Linked DNA regions of Homo sapiens: region 1 is linked to region 2. Evidence: promoter capture Hi-C in 16 types of primary human blood cells and fetal thymus (Javierre and others, 2016). All regions are on one chromosome and are shown on one strand. Each heading gives the region's core, a stretch centred on a gene start or on the middle of the fragment in contact. The rest is flanking DNA. Distances are from core to core; before and after follow the strand shown. Region 1 holds the start of TBC1D13 (TBC1 domain family member 13). Region 2 holds the start of SPOUT1 (SPOUT domain containing methyltransferase 1).

Region 1 (6,560 bases), core at 1,476-3,975, 43 kb after region 2:
GCCTGAAATGTTCTTTTGAGGATAACACCTTCTCATCCTTGATATTCCTTCCTCAGGAGCAGCCTTTACCACCACCATGTCATCCTAATTCAGGTCAGTTCCCCCTGTTATAAGCAATAATGGCTCTGTGACTATTTCATAGCATCTGTCATAAGTGGAATTATTATATATATATATATATATATGGTGTATTTTCTTAACGTCTGTAACCCCTACTACTGGGTAAGCCCCAGAAGGACAAAAACCACATCTATTATTCCCAGTGCATAGCACAGAGCACTGCACATAGAAGATATTCCATACATATTTGTGGAATATAAACTAAGCTACGAATGCTAAGTATTTTGTGCTTTACAGATATTATTTCATTTAATCTTCATTATTACCCCAGTAAGTAGGGAAGATTAACGTAATTGTCGTAAGAAGGAAACTTATCTGTAAAACTCTTAACTACTAACACTGACTGCCTCTCCTTTGGGGCCTATATTTCACTCCTAAACAGAAAGACAAAGTTATCCTGCAATAAGATCAGGAAGCTCACTACCGCAGTTGCTGCTGTAGTATCCCTGGTACCATGAACATGAGTGAATACCTCCACTTCAGAATCTATATGAGGATGACAGGGACAATATAAGAAGTTCTTTTTTTTTTTTTTTTTTTTGAGATGGAGCTTCACTCTTGTCGCCCAGGCTGGAGTGCAATGGCGCAATCTCGGCTCACTGCAATTCCCAGGTTCAAGTGATTTTCCTGCCTCAGCCTCCCGAGTAGCTGGGATTACAGGCAAGTGCCACCAAGCCCAGCTACTTTTTTATATTTTTAGTAGAGACTAGGTTTCACCATGTTGGCCAGGCTGTTCTCGAACTCCTGACCTCAGGTGATCCACCTGCCTTGGCCTCCCAAAATGTTGGGATTACAGGCATGAGCCACGGCACCCGGCCAGAAGTTCTTGCTGGCAAAGTTACAAGGGCAAAAAAGTGACAAGAAGCTATGCAGAACACGTTGGGATATTTTTTAAAACAGGCAAAAAGAGAGTTATCTTTGTGCTCATTGGGGCAAAGTCTAACACAGCAGGATCAGCTCCTTAAAGTCAGTGTCCCAAGGCTACCCATTTTACCACTAGCCAAGGTTTAGTTCAGGCAGCTTAGACCCCAAGCCAGGGAGAGAACAAGGAACAACCCTGCAGTTAACCAAACTCACCAACACAGGAAGCTAGCTAAGGAATGAGGAAAGACTGTCCTGGGCTCAAAAGGTCCCAACTCTCATTCTCCAGGCTTCAGTCCTGTCCTGTTACTCTCAGGAATCTGGCACCTCCTGCGGAAAGCTTAGGAAAGCTTAGGGCATGCTAAGTGTGGCCACTGCCCCTCTGGGAAACCCCTCCAAGCTCAAGGCAGTCACTGCCTGTTCAGCTCTACAGAATCTGGAAAAGGCCCCAAGAGTCTGTGTGTAATTTCCTTCCAAGGCCCCAGCCCCCAGCAGCTGGGCCCCAGAGCTGACCAGGTGTGGCCTCCCCCTGTATTCTAGCCACAGGGCTGCTGTAGGGAAACCGTGAAAATACAGAATGGCTTCTTACCACTAAAGCTGAGTTCCCGCAGCTTTTCCAATGCAATTGAGGGCTCCTTCAGGACATCCTGGAAATCTGCAATTCTGGAAGGGGAGATAGGGCGGCAAATGAAGCATGCTGATATCGGCTCAGTGAGACCCACAGCCCTCAGCTCCCTCACACTGCCAGTTTCCAACCTGTGCCTCTCTCCCCTTTAGGACATAAAAATCACACAGCTTAGTCAAGGTCCTCACCAAAGACAGCTTTGGAGAACAACAAAACTATATTTCACTTCTTCCTCTACAACCAGAAACACAGAATGCCAGGGAAGAAACTTGAGAGATATTCTTGTCTAGAAGTTCCCAAATGAGGACCATAAAATTAGACATATTCCAACATTCTAATACTTAGTGAGCTGACATTTACTGGGCACTTCCTGCCGGCCAGGCCGGGTCCACGCACAGCCACCAACTGAACTCCTTGGACCTCAGGAACCAGGAGTAATTTGATATGCAGACAATGGACCATGCTCACAAATATAACCATTACAAGACCTCTGGGCCTGCCAGAAGGCAAGGACAAAGGGTTTAAAAAACACGTCCTGAAGGAAAACTGAAGAGTGAGCAAAATTCAGCCAATGCTGCAGGATCTGGCCTGGGGGAGGGGCCAGACTGGAGAATGCAAGTTCTCTAGCAATCCTAGTAAGAAAAAGGCACGGGGGACAGGGTGCACTTGGAGAGAGTACGGGAGCAGGGGGATCAAAAGGGGGAAAGGCACGGGGGCGGGGCATGGGGGTCTGGATGAGGAAGACTCAGGGGAAGGGGGACACCAGGGGTCCAGGATGAGGGAGGCAGAAGCAGTGACATCAGGGGCAGGAGAAGGGCCGCCCCTCCGTCGTTCCTGCAGCCCACAGGCAATGAGGTTAGAAGGTGGACGCTCGAGACCCTCTGCCGAGGGGGTCTGCCGATTCCTGGCCACACCCGCGCTTCCCCCTTCTGAGGGGCAGAAGGGGCAGCCTGGCCAGGAGTGGCCCAGCCGGGTCAGGCCCCATGGCCCCTTACCGGCTCTTGTGCAGACTTGACATGGTGTTGACTTCCGGACCCCCCAGCCGCCTCCGCCGCCTGCGCCTCTGCCGCCTGCGCTGCCGCCGCCGCCGCCGCCCCCCAGGGACGCGGGGCTCTGCGCAAAAGCCTCCGGCGGGAAACACAGCCACTAGCCTGCGCGTTCCACCGCCTCAGCCCCGCCCCGCCCCGCCAGTCACGTGCCACCCCTCGACTCTCACGCTTCCACACGGTACTGGCGGCTACGGCCGGCCGGGTTGAGCGGGGCAACCTCGGGTCTGGTGGGCGTGGCAATCGCGGGCCGGGAGCCCCAGCGCCGCCGACCCTGCGGGCCAAATTTGAGAACCCGCCGGTGACAGCGCAGACTGTGTGTCTCTGGACTATTCCTTGCGCTTCCCTGGGCCTCAGTGTCTACTTACGCAATATACCTGTCACCCTGTCGTCTTCCCTGCACTCACCCCCCTGTAATTAACTACTGCATGATTGTTACAGGAGTCTCGGCCTCCCCTGCTAAACTGTTCAGGCCCCCCAGCTTATCTTGGTCTCTGCAGAATCCTCAAGGCCTGTATAGCAGGGACTCGCATGAACCGCCGTGCGCGGCCCAACTTTTTTTTTTTTTATAAAAACTATACCAGCAAACCCTATAAAATGTAAGTTAGGAAGAAAGAAAAAAACACAAATGATATCTTAAGAAAAATAGGCTGGACCGGGCGCGGTGGCTCATCCCTGTAAATTCCAGTGCTTTGGGAGGACGAGGCAGGCAGACCACTTGAGGTCAGGAGTTGGAGACCACTCTGGCCAACACGGTGAAACCCCGTCTCTACCAAAAATGCAAAAATTAGCCGGGCGTGGTGGCAGGCGCCTGTAATCCCAGCTCCTCGAGATTACCTTCTTTACAAAAGATGTAAAAATTAGTTGAGTAGGCCGGGCGTGGTGGCTCACGCCTGTAATCCCAGCACTTTGGGAGGCTGAAGCGGGCAGATCACCAGGTCAGGAATTTGAGAACAGCCTAACCAACATGGTGAAACCTCGTCTCTACTAAAAATACAAAAATTAGCCGGGTGTGGTGACGCACAACTGTAATCCCAGCTACTCAGGAAGCTGAGGCAGGAGAATTGCTTGAACCCGGGAGGCGGAGCTTGCAGTGAGCCGAGATAGTGCCACCGCACTCCAATAGCGCCACCGCACTCCAACCTGGGCAAAAACGCAAGACCCTGTCAAAAAAAAAAAAAAAAGAAAAGAAAAGAAAAGAAACTGCTTAAAGATTTTCCGAAATGGTTGTATTATTTAACACCTTTTTCTTGAGAAAAAAAAAAAAAGAAAGAAACAGCTAGCCAGGCGCGGTGGCTCACGCCTGTAATCCCAGCACTTTGGGAGGCCAAGGAGGGCGGATCATGAGGTCAGGAGATCGAGACCATCCTGTCTAACACGGTGAAACCCCATCTCTACTAAAAAATACAAAGAAAAAAATTAGCCGGGCGTGGTGGTGGGTGCCTGTAGTCCCAGCTACTCGGGAGGCTGAGGCAGGAGAATGGCATGAACCTGGGAGGCAGAGCTTGCAGTGAGTGGAGATTGCACGACTGCACTCCAGCCTGGGCGAAAGAGCGACACTCTATCTCAAAAAAAAAAAAAGAAAAAGAAAAAGAAAAGAAAGTGCTTAAATATTTTCCAAAATGGTTGTATTATTTAACACCTACCCCAGCAGTATATGAGAGTTGCTGTTGTACCACGTCCTCACCAATACTTGATGTGGTCAGTCTTTTTAATCTTAGACATTCTAGTAGATGTGAAGTGGTATCTCCTGCTTTAACATGCATTTCCCTAAAGACATATGATGTTGAGCATCTCTTCACACGTTTGCTATGCATATATACTCTTCTTTCTTTTTTTTGAGACATGGTCTCACTCTGTCACCCCAGGCTGGAGTGCAGTGGCGCAATCTCAGTTCACTGCAACCTCTGCCTACTGAGTAGCTGGGACTACAGGCGCATGCCACCATGCCCAGCTGATTTTTGTATTTTGAGGTAGAGATAGGGTTTCATCATGTTGGCCAGGCTGGTCTCAAACTCCTGACCTCAAGTGTCTGCCCACCTCAGGCCTCCCAAAGTGCTGGGATTACAGGCATGAGCTACCATGCCTGGCCTTCTTTTTTTTTTTTCTTGAGACGGAATCTCACTCTTGTTGCCGAGGCTGGAGTGCAATGGGGTGATCTCCAGCTCACGGCAACCTCTGCCTCCCGGGTTCAAGCGATTCTTCTGCCTCAGCCTCCCGAGTAGCTAGGATTAAAGGTTCATGCCACCCTGCCTGGCTAATTTTTATATTTTTTGATTTAAAAAAAATTTTGTATTTTTAGTAGAGACGGGTTTTCATCATGTTGGCCAGGCTGGCCTCAAACTCCTGACCTCAGGTTATTCTCCCTCCTCGGCCTCCCAAAATCCTGGGATTACAGGCGTGAGATACCATGCCTGGCAGCACCTGGCCTTCTAATTTTTTTTTTTTTTTGAGATGGAGTCTGGCTCTGTTGCCCAGGCTGGAGTGCAGTGGTGCAATCTCCACTCACCACAACCTCCGCCTCCTGAGTTCAAGCAATTCTCCTACCTCAGCCTCCCAAGTAGCTGGGATTATAGGCGCGCGCCAGTATGCCTGGCTAATTTTTGTAGTTTTAGTAGAGACGGGTTTCTCCATGTTGGCCAGGCTGGTCTTGAACTCCTGACCTCAGGCGATCTGCCCACCTTTGCCTCCCAAAGTGCTGAGATGACAGTCATGAGCCACCATGCCTGTCCCTATTGCCCGTTCTTTATTGTACTTTTTTTTTTTTTTTTTTTTTGAGACAGTCTCTCTGTTCTTGGCTGGGCTGGAGTGCAATGGCGCAATCTTGGCTCACAGCAACCTCTGCCTCCAGCAATTATCCTGCCTCAGCCTCCCAAGTAGCTGAGATTACAGGCGCCCACCACCACACCTGGCTAATTTTTGTATTTTAGCAGAGACGGGGTTTCACCATGTTGGCCAGGCTGGTCTCGAACTCCTGACATCAGGTGATCTACCCACCTCGGGCTCCCAAAGTGTTGGGATTACAGGCGTGCATCACCATGCCAAGCCTATTGTACTTTTTTTTTTTTTTTTTTTGATACGGAGTCTTACTCTGTCACCAGGCTAGAGTGCAGTGGCGCAATCTCGGCTCACTGCAACCTCCGCCTCCCGGGTTAAAGTGCTTCTCCTGCCTCAGCCTCCTAAGTAGCTGGGATTACAGGTGCCTGCTACCACACCCGGCTAGTTTTTGTATTTTTAGTACAGACGGGGTTTCACGATGTTAGCCAGGATGGTCTTGATCTCCTGACCTCGTGATCTGTTGTCCTCGGCCTCCCAAAGTGCAGAGATTACAGGCTTAAGGCTCCACGCCTGGCCTATTGTACATTTTTAAATCCCCACCACCACATTTTTCCCCCCCTCCCCAGGATGAGGTCTTGTTCTGTCCCCAGGCTGGAGTGCAGAGATTGCAGTGAGCCGAGATCATGCCACTGCACTCCAGGCTAGGCAACAGAGTGAGACCCTGTCTTAAAAAAAAAAGAAAAAAAAAAAAAAAGAGACAGTTATAATTGCTGACAAGGATGTGGAGAGATAGGAACCCACACATGTGCTGGAGGGAATGTAAAATGGTGCAGCTGCTATGGAAAATAGTATGACAGTTCCTCAAAAAGCTAAACATAGAATTACCCTATGACTCAGCACTTCCATTCCTAGGCATTGAAAGCATGGACAGGGCCAGGTGCAGTGGCTCTTGCTTGTAATCGCAGCACTCTGGGAGGCCAAGGCAGGAGGATTGCTTGAGGCAGGAATTCCAGACCAGCCTGGGCAACATAATGAGACCCCCGTCTCTGTAAAAAATCTTAAAATTTATCCAGGCATGGTGGCACACACCTGGTGTCCCAGCTACTCAGGAGGCTAAGGTGGGAGGATCA
Region 2 (7,074 bases), core at 4,142-6,641:
CAGAGAATGAGGAGGCTGTTTCTTTTTTTCTTTCTTTTTTTTTTTTGGTTGAGATGGAGTCTCACTCTTGCCCAGGCTGGAGTGCAGTGGCGCGATCTTGGCTCACTGCAAGCTCTGCCCCCCAGGTTCACGCCATTCTCCTGCCTCAGCCTCCCGAGTAGCTGGGACCACAGGCTACTTTTTTTTGCCCGGCTAATTTTTTTTGTATTTTTGGTAGAGACGGGGTTTCACCATGTTAGCCAGGTTGGTCTTGATCTCCTGACCTTGTAATCCACCTGCCTCGGCCTCCCAAAGTGCTGGGATTACAGGCGTGAGCCACTGCTCCTGGCCTTTTTTTTTTTTTTTTTTTTTTTGAGACAGAGTCTCACTCTGTCGCCTAGGTGGGAGTGCAGTGGCGCAATCTCAGCACACTGCAACCTCCACCTCCAGGGTTCAAGCGATTCTCCTCCCTTAGCCTCCTGAGTAGTTGGGTAACTGGGATTACAGGCATGTACAACCACGCCTGGCTAATTTTTGTATTTTTAGTAGAGACGGGGTTTCACCATGTTGGTCAGGCTAGTCTCCAACTCCTGACCTCAGATGATCCACTCCCCTTGGCCTCCCAAAGTGCTGGGATTACAGGCGTGAGCCACCGTGCCTGGCCTGAGGAACCTGTTTCTAACTTGCACAGAGATGCTGTGTGGGCTGGCAGGATTTCCTGCCTCTTTGGATCTCCATCTTCCCATCTGTACAGTGAGGAGTTGGCCCATTAACTCTTGAGTTCATCCAGGTTTGATCTGTGACTCTAAGGCTTTGTTCTTCTCTGGCTCTGCCCTGACCTGCTCCATGATCCTCCCTCTGTCAGCCTCCCTCTGCCCTCTATACCCAGGGAGGGACTTGGAATGATGTTCTGGGATTCTTTTCTTCTGACTTTGTGTTTGTTTTTGTTTTGGATGGATTTTCTCTCTTTCGCCCAGGCTGCGGTGAAGTGGCGCAATCTGGCTCACTGCAACCTCCACCCCCGGGTTCAAGCAATTCTCCTGCCTCAGCCTCCCAAGTAGCTGGGATTACAGGCATGCGCCACCACACCCGGCCAATTTTTGTATTTTTGGTAGAGACGGGGTTTAGCCATGTTGGCCAGGCTGGTCTTGAACTCCTGACCTCAGGTGATCCACCCGTCTCAGCCTCCCAAAGTGCTGGGATTATAGGCGTGAGCCACCGCACCTGGCCTTGTTCCTCTGACTTTGATGCAGCTCTAGGTGCTGGATTGGAGCTAACTCTCCTTCCCCGCCTGGTCGTGGGAACCTCTCTGTCCCCTCCGGAGCCAAGGCCTGCTGGGCCACGAGGCCGTGTTGAGACATGTCCTTCCTCCTCCCCAGGGCTTGGTGGCCATCCCTGTCTCCATCTTCTATAGTGTGCCACATCAGAAGCACTTTGACCACTATATCCGCTTCTGTTTTGTGAAGGTAAAGGGCAGGGCTGGGGGAGGAAAGACCTCACAGAGCTTCCCAAGGCCGGCTGGGCACATGGGGAGAGTGTAGGACTAATCTGTGCTGGCGCAGGATGAAGCCACGCTCCAGGCCATGGACGAGAAGCTGCGGAAGTGGAAGGTGGAACTCTAGCCCTGAAGTCACGCCTTGGCCCTGACATCCCCACATGCCCGCAGAGATCCTCTTTGAGTGTCTGTCTTTGTCCAGGTTTCAGACATTTCTAGGTTGGGGAAGATGCTATTGGGAAACCTCTTCTCCGTGACACAGAATGTTCTGGGTGGGAGCCGCCCTTCTTCATCTTAGAGAACCAAGTGCCTCCTGTCTGAAAGGTGAGGGTGGCCTGACCTGGGCCTCTCCCTGCCCCTCCATAGGTGGGTTTGTAGGGTCTTGTGTTGCTTCTGGTCTCTCCAGGCTTGGCTGAGACGGACGGTAGACTTCCACCATGTACCGATCACATCCCAGCTCTGCATGGCCCCTGCTAAGGCTCAGGTATAACCTCACCTTCCCTGGCTCATCTTGGCCTTGGGGAGTTGCCTTTAGGCTTGAGTCCTCAAGCCTCTCCTTTTCGTCCATAATAAAATGTTTAAGTTATTAAGATCCTTATTGACGGCTTCTCTCTGCTTCACACTCATGCTGATGGCTGATCTAACTTGTGAAGAATGCCCAGAAGAACCTCAGACACCCCCACAACTTTGTACAAATGGTTACTGTAGTCACATAGTGGCACAACCAGGCCTAGCACCCAAGGCCCTCAAATGAATTCCTCACTATTAATCTTTGTTGTTGTTGTTGTTGTTGTTGTTGTTGTTGTTGTTGTTTTTGAAACAGAGTCTCGCTCTGTCCCCCAGGCTGGAGTGCAGTGGCATGATCTTGGCTCATTGCAACCTCCACCTCCTGGGTTCAAGCAATTCTCCTGCCTCAGCCTCCTGAGTAGCTGGGACTACAGGCACCTGCCACCACGCCCGGCTAATTTTTGTGTTTTTGTAGAGATGGGGTTTCACCATGTTGGCTGGGCTGGACTCAAACTCCTGACCTCAGGTCATCTGCTCGCCTCGGCCTCCCAAAGTGCTGGGATTACAGACGTGAGCCACCATAGCTGGCCTCTCATATTAATCTGATGGTAGCAGTTATTGGTGCTGGGTGTGGTGGCTGGGGTGGGGGTGTCATATGTGTTTGTGTGTGTGTGTGTGTGTGGAGAGGATTGGGGTTCGTGACAAGGAAGACATGGACATTCCCACAGGGGTGAGAGAACAGCACAGTGGGGGCCAGGAGGACCAGGGACTTAAATAATTCTCAGGAGGAGGACTGAATGTTGATCGTGCAAGCCCTACCTGCGAGGCACTCAGACGCACATCATCTTACACAACCCTCTGAGACTGAGACCTGAGTTATCTCCAGTTCACAAGAGAGGAAAGCACTCTGGAGGTGAGGTGAAGTGGTGTGCCCAGGCCTTCTAGCTGGCCCCGATTGAGTCTCACTGGATAGCAATAGTAGCTCCTGAATTTCTTTGGAAGGTGGTGTTAGGGGCCTGGTCTTGAAGTTGCATTTGCATAGCAAGCGCATGGGTTTGGCTCATATCATATGTTTAACTGGGGGAGCTGATAGGAATATATCATATAATAAAATACATATTTGGTGTTTGCCCCTGGTCCTTAGTAAAGAATTCCTAAAATCCTTGGAGTTTCTGGAAGATAGGCATGTCTTGTTAGTCACATGGAATCCCTCTGCACTGTACGATTACGGGGTCAGAACTTTTAGCCCATCGGGCCCCCTCCATCTCTGCCTCCATGGAGGTGTGAGGGACTAGACTTTGAGCCCAATCACATGGTCCATGTCTGTTTGTTATTGTTGTTTTGGGGGGATTTTTGTGTTTGTTTTTTCAAATGGCCAATGTCTTAATCAGTCATGCCTACAAAATAAACCTGTCAAAAATCACAACAAATTTAGTATAAGATCTAAGTTCGAGACCAGGCACGGTGGCTCACACCTGTAATCCCGGCACTTTGGGAGGCCGAGGCGGGTGGATCACGAGGTCAGGAGATCGAGACCATCCTGGCTAACACGGTGAAACCCTGTCTCTACTAAAAATATAAAAAATTAGCCGGGTGCAGTGGCGGGCACCTGTAGTCCCAGCTACTCGGGAAGCTGAGGCAGGAGAATGGCATGAACCCAGGAGGCGGAGCTTGCAGTGAGCGGAGATCACGCCACTGCACTCTAGCCTGGGCGACAGAGCAGAGCGAGACTGTCTCAAAAAAAAAAAAATCTAAGTTCGAGACCGGGCACGGTGGCTGACACCTGTAATTCCAGCACTTTGGGAGGCCGAGGCGGGTGGATCACCTGAGGTCGGGAGTTCAAGACCAACCTGACCAACATGGAGAATCCCGTCTCTACTAAAAATACAAAAATTAGCCGGGCTTGGTGGCAGGCGCCTGTAATCCCAGCTACTTGGGAGCTTGAGGCAGGAGAATTGCTTGAACCTGGGAGGCAGAGGTTGCAGTGAGCCGAGATCATGCCACTGCACTTCAGCCTGAGCAACAGAGTGAGACTAGATCTCAAAAAATAAAAGGCATTAATGGCTCAAGTCTATAATCTCAGCCCTTTGGGAAGCCAAGTTGGGAGGATTGCTTGAACCCTGGAGTCTGAGACCAGCCCTGGCAACATAGTGAGACACTATCTGTACAAAAAGAAAAAAAAAAATTAGTCGGGCATGGTGGCTCACACTTGTAGTCCCAACTAATATAGTCTGTTAATTAAAAGAGAACGAGGCCGGGCGTGGTGGCTCATGCCTGTAATCCCAGCATTTTGGGAAGCCGAGGTGGGCGGATCACCTGAGGTCAAGAGTTCGAGACCAGCCTGACCAACATAGAGAAACTCCATCTCTACTAAAAATACAAAATCAGCCAGGCGTGGTGGTGCATGCCTGTAATCCCAGCTACTCGGGAGGCTAAGGCAGGAGAATCGCTTGAACCCAGGAGTTGGAGGTTCCTGTGAGCTGAGATCGAGCCATTGCACTCCAGCCTGGGCAAGAAAAGCGAAACTCTGTCTCAAAAAAAAAAAAAAAAAAAAAAAAAAAAAAAAAAAAAGGCCGGGTGCAGTGGGTCACGCCTGTAATCCCAGCCCTTTGGGAGGCCGAGGCTGGAGGATCACTTATGGTCAGGAGTTCAACCAGGCTGGCCAACACGGGGCCAACATCAACACCATCTCTACTAAAAACACACACAAAAAAATTTGCTGGGCATGGTGGCACGCTCCTGTAATCCCAGCTTCTTGAAAGGCTGAGGCAGGAGAATTGCTTGAACCCAGGAGGTGGAGGTTGCAGTGAGCCGAGATCGCGCCATTGCACTCCAGCCTGGGCAATGAATCGAGACTCTGTCTCAAAAAAAAGAAAGAGTACGTGAACGAATCTATAAGAAACCTGGAGTAAATTATCTCATTTTCAGCTCTGAATCACACTACAGCTCAAGGCCCCAGGGTCCCCATGTATAAAGCCTTCCAGGAGCTAGGCGTGGTGCTGCGCACCTGTGGTTCCAGCTACTCGGGAGGCTAAGGTGGGAGGATCCCTTGAGCCCAGGAGCTCAAGCCTGCAGTGAGCTAGAATTGCTCCACTGCACTCCAGCCTCGGCAACATAGCGAGACCCTGTCTCAAAAAAAATTATTTTTAAACAAGTGAACTACTCAGAGGTCTGAGTGTTGTATTTGTCCCAACTCAGAGGGGGGCTCCGAGCCATCCAAAATTCAGCACAGTACCCGCGATGCCGCCTATTTGGACACCTACTCTGCCCAACCTACTCCAGCCCGCGTACCCCTGCAGCCCGTCGGGCGCCCAGGCCACGCCCCTGGGCGATATTGGCTCTCCGATTGGACAGCTTAATGGAGGTGTGGCCGGAAGAGGCGAGTCTCATTGGCAGAGGCGGGACCGACGGTGTGTGCGGAACATGGCGGAGCGCGGCAGGAAGCGGCCGTGCGGCCCGGTAAGTGCGGGCGGCGGGACCCCGTGCAGGGCAGCATGGTGGAGGCGTGAGAACCAGTGGCGTGGGGGCCTTCGCCGGGGCCGGGCCGCGCCTCCTGCTGCCTGCTTCCCGCTGATCCCAGGCCGGAAGCCCCCGAAGGTGCCGCGTGAGCCTCAGCAGGATGGGAACAGCGCCCGTGTCCTCTCCGGAACCCCCTGCGGCTCCCTGGCCCCCGCTGGATTACGGAGGCGGGACCCTGCTCGCCTCCGGATGCTGAATCCGGAGCCCTTTCGTGGCTTCTGGAGCCCTTTTCTGACTTCCAGGGCGACTGTGGGCAGTGCTGTACCCTGAGCCTCAGTTTTCTCTTCTGTTTTGTGGGAACTCATTCGACAGTTTCTTGAGTGCTTTCTGTGTGCCAGGCTGGGTCCCAGGCGCTGGGGATACAGCGGGTCCCTGCCCTCCTGCCGCTTTCTGGGGCAGCAGTTCGCAGAGGTTCCTTGGCTTCCTTGCCGCCCCGTGTGGAGGGGCTGGCTATGGTGCAGCAAACGGACCCCCTCCAGGTGTGACCATCAGCCTCACACTCATAATCCTCCTACCACTCCTTCTCCAGGGTGAACACGGCCAAAGGATTGAGTGGCGAAAATGGAAGCAACAGAGTAAGTAAGGGTGGGTAAGAGTATCTTCCCATAGGCCACTCCACCAGTGCTCAGTCAAACCCTGGAGAAAGACACCAACTTTGTTCCCTCTGGGTCCTGCAGCACACAAAGTGGGGAGGCAGGGGCCGGGAGCCCTGGGGAGGCTCCCTTGCTGCCCTCTGGCTGCTCACCCAGCAGCTCTCCAGAGTCCAGGCTGACCCAATGAGTGGGAACTGTCTCCTTGGCCAATTAGGATGTTCTTTTATCCAGAGAAAGAGGAGAAAAAAAAATGGAAGGATCTCAAGCTGATGAAAAAACTGGAGCGGCAGCGGGCACAGGAGGAACAGGCAAAGCGCCTGGAAGAGGAGGAGGCAGCGGCAGAGAAGGAGGACCGCGGTGAGCTGGGGTCTTGGGGAGGGCCACAGGTTGTGGCCCACGGTAGTTGTCCTGCAGGCAGAGCAGAGATGTCTTATCTGAAAGGGCCTTTACAGACCAGTAGGTCCAAACATCTTGTCCTGATGGAGAAACTGAGGCCCAGAGAAGGGAGGGAGCCAGCAAACTGAGTTCTGACCTCCTGCTTAGGTAAATTTCAAGCCTATGGAAGGCAAGCCTTATCTCTCTTTTTTTTTTTTTTTGAGATGGAGTCTTGCTCTGTTGCCCAGGCTGGAGTGCAACGGCGCCATCTCTGCTCACTGCAACCTCCACTGCCCAAGTTCAAGCAATTTTCCTCCCTCGGCCCCCCGAGTAGTTGGGATTACAGAAGTGTGCCACCACACCTGGCTAATTTTCGTATTTTTAGTAGAGACGTGGTTGCACCATGTTGGGGAGGCCGGTCTCGAACTCCTGACCTCAGGTGATCTGCCCACTTCAGCCTCCCAAAGTGCTGGGATTACAGGCATGAGCCACCGTGCCCGGCCCAAGCCTCATATCTCTTAACTTAGACCTCTAGAACTTCATGATCTTCCTGATTTTTTGACTTTTTTATTGAGCATTTTCTGTGTGCTTTAATTTCATTTTTCA

What was found. Contacts are between HindIII fragments. The CHiCAGO score rates a contact against its expected background, and 5 or more counts as called.
Region 1: the fragment with the promoter of TBC1D13 here is called in contact with the fragment with the promoter of SPOUT1 in region 2 in 6 of 17 cell types (endothelial precursors, naive CD8 T cells, neutrophils and 3 more); the score reaches 8.7 in endothelial precursors.

The regions. Positions count from the first base shown.
Region 1 is chr9:128,783,418-128,789,977 of GRCh38, reverse strand. It overlaps TBC1D13 (TBC1 domain family member 13), which reads right to left and starts at 2,725. Exons shown (of 12, transcript NM_018201.5): 1 at 2,602-2,725; 2 at 1,571-1,644. The coding sequence starts at 2,624. RefSeq lists a silencer at 2,588-3,077, a cis regulatory region at 6,090-6,424 and an enhancer at 6,134-6,428. The HindIII fragment of the contact is 6,792 bases long and covers 1,334-6,560 here.
Region 2 is chr9:128,828,111-128,835,184 of GRCh38, reverse strand. SPOUT1 (SPOUT domain containing methyltransferase 1) reads left to right here and starts at 5,391. Exons shown (of 12, transcript NM_016390.4): 1 at 5,391-5,440; 2 at 6,030-6,075; 3 at 6,325-6,450. The coding sequence starts at 5,405. It overlaps KYAT1-SPOUT1 (KYAT1-SPOUT1 readthrough), which reads left to right. Exons shown (of 25, transcript NR_182311.1): 12 at 1,359-1,445; 13 at 1,542-1,958; 14 at 5,180-5,440; 15 at 6,030-6,075; 16 at 6,325-6,450. KYAT1 (kynurenine aminotransferase 1) reads left to right here. Exons shown (of 13, transcript NM_004059.5): 12 at 1,359-1,445; 13 at 1,542-2,243. The coding sequence ends at 1,601. RefSeq lists silencers at 4,440-4,663, 5,480-5,659 and enhancers at 5,140-5,199, 5,997-6,927. The HindIII fragment of the contact is 15,703 bases long and covers 1-7,074 here.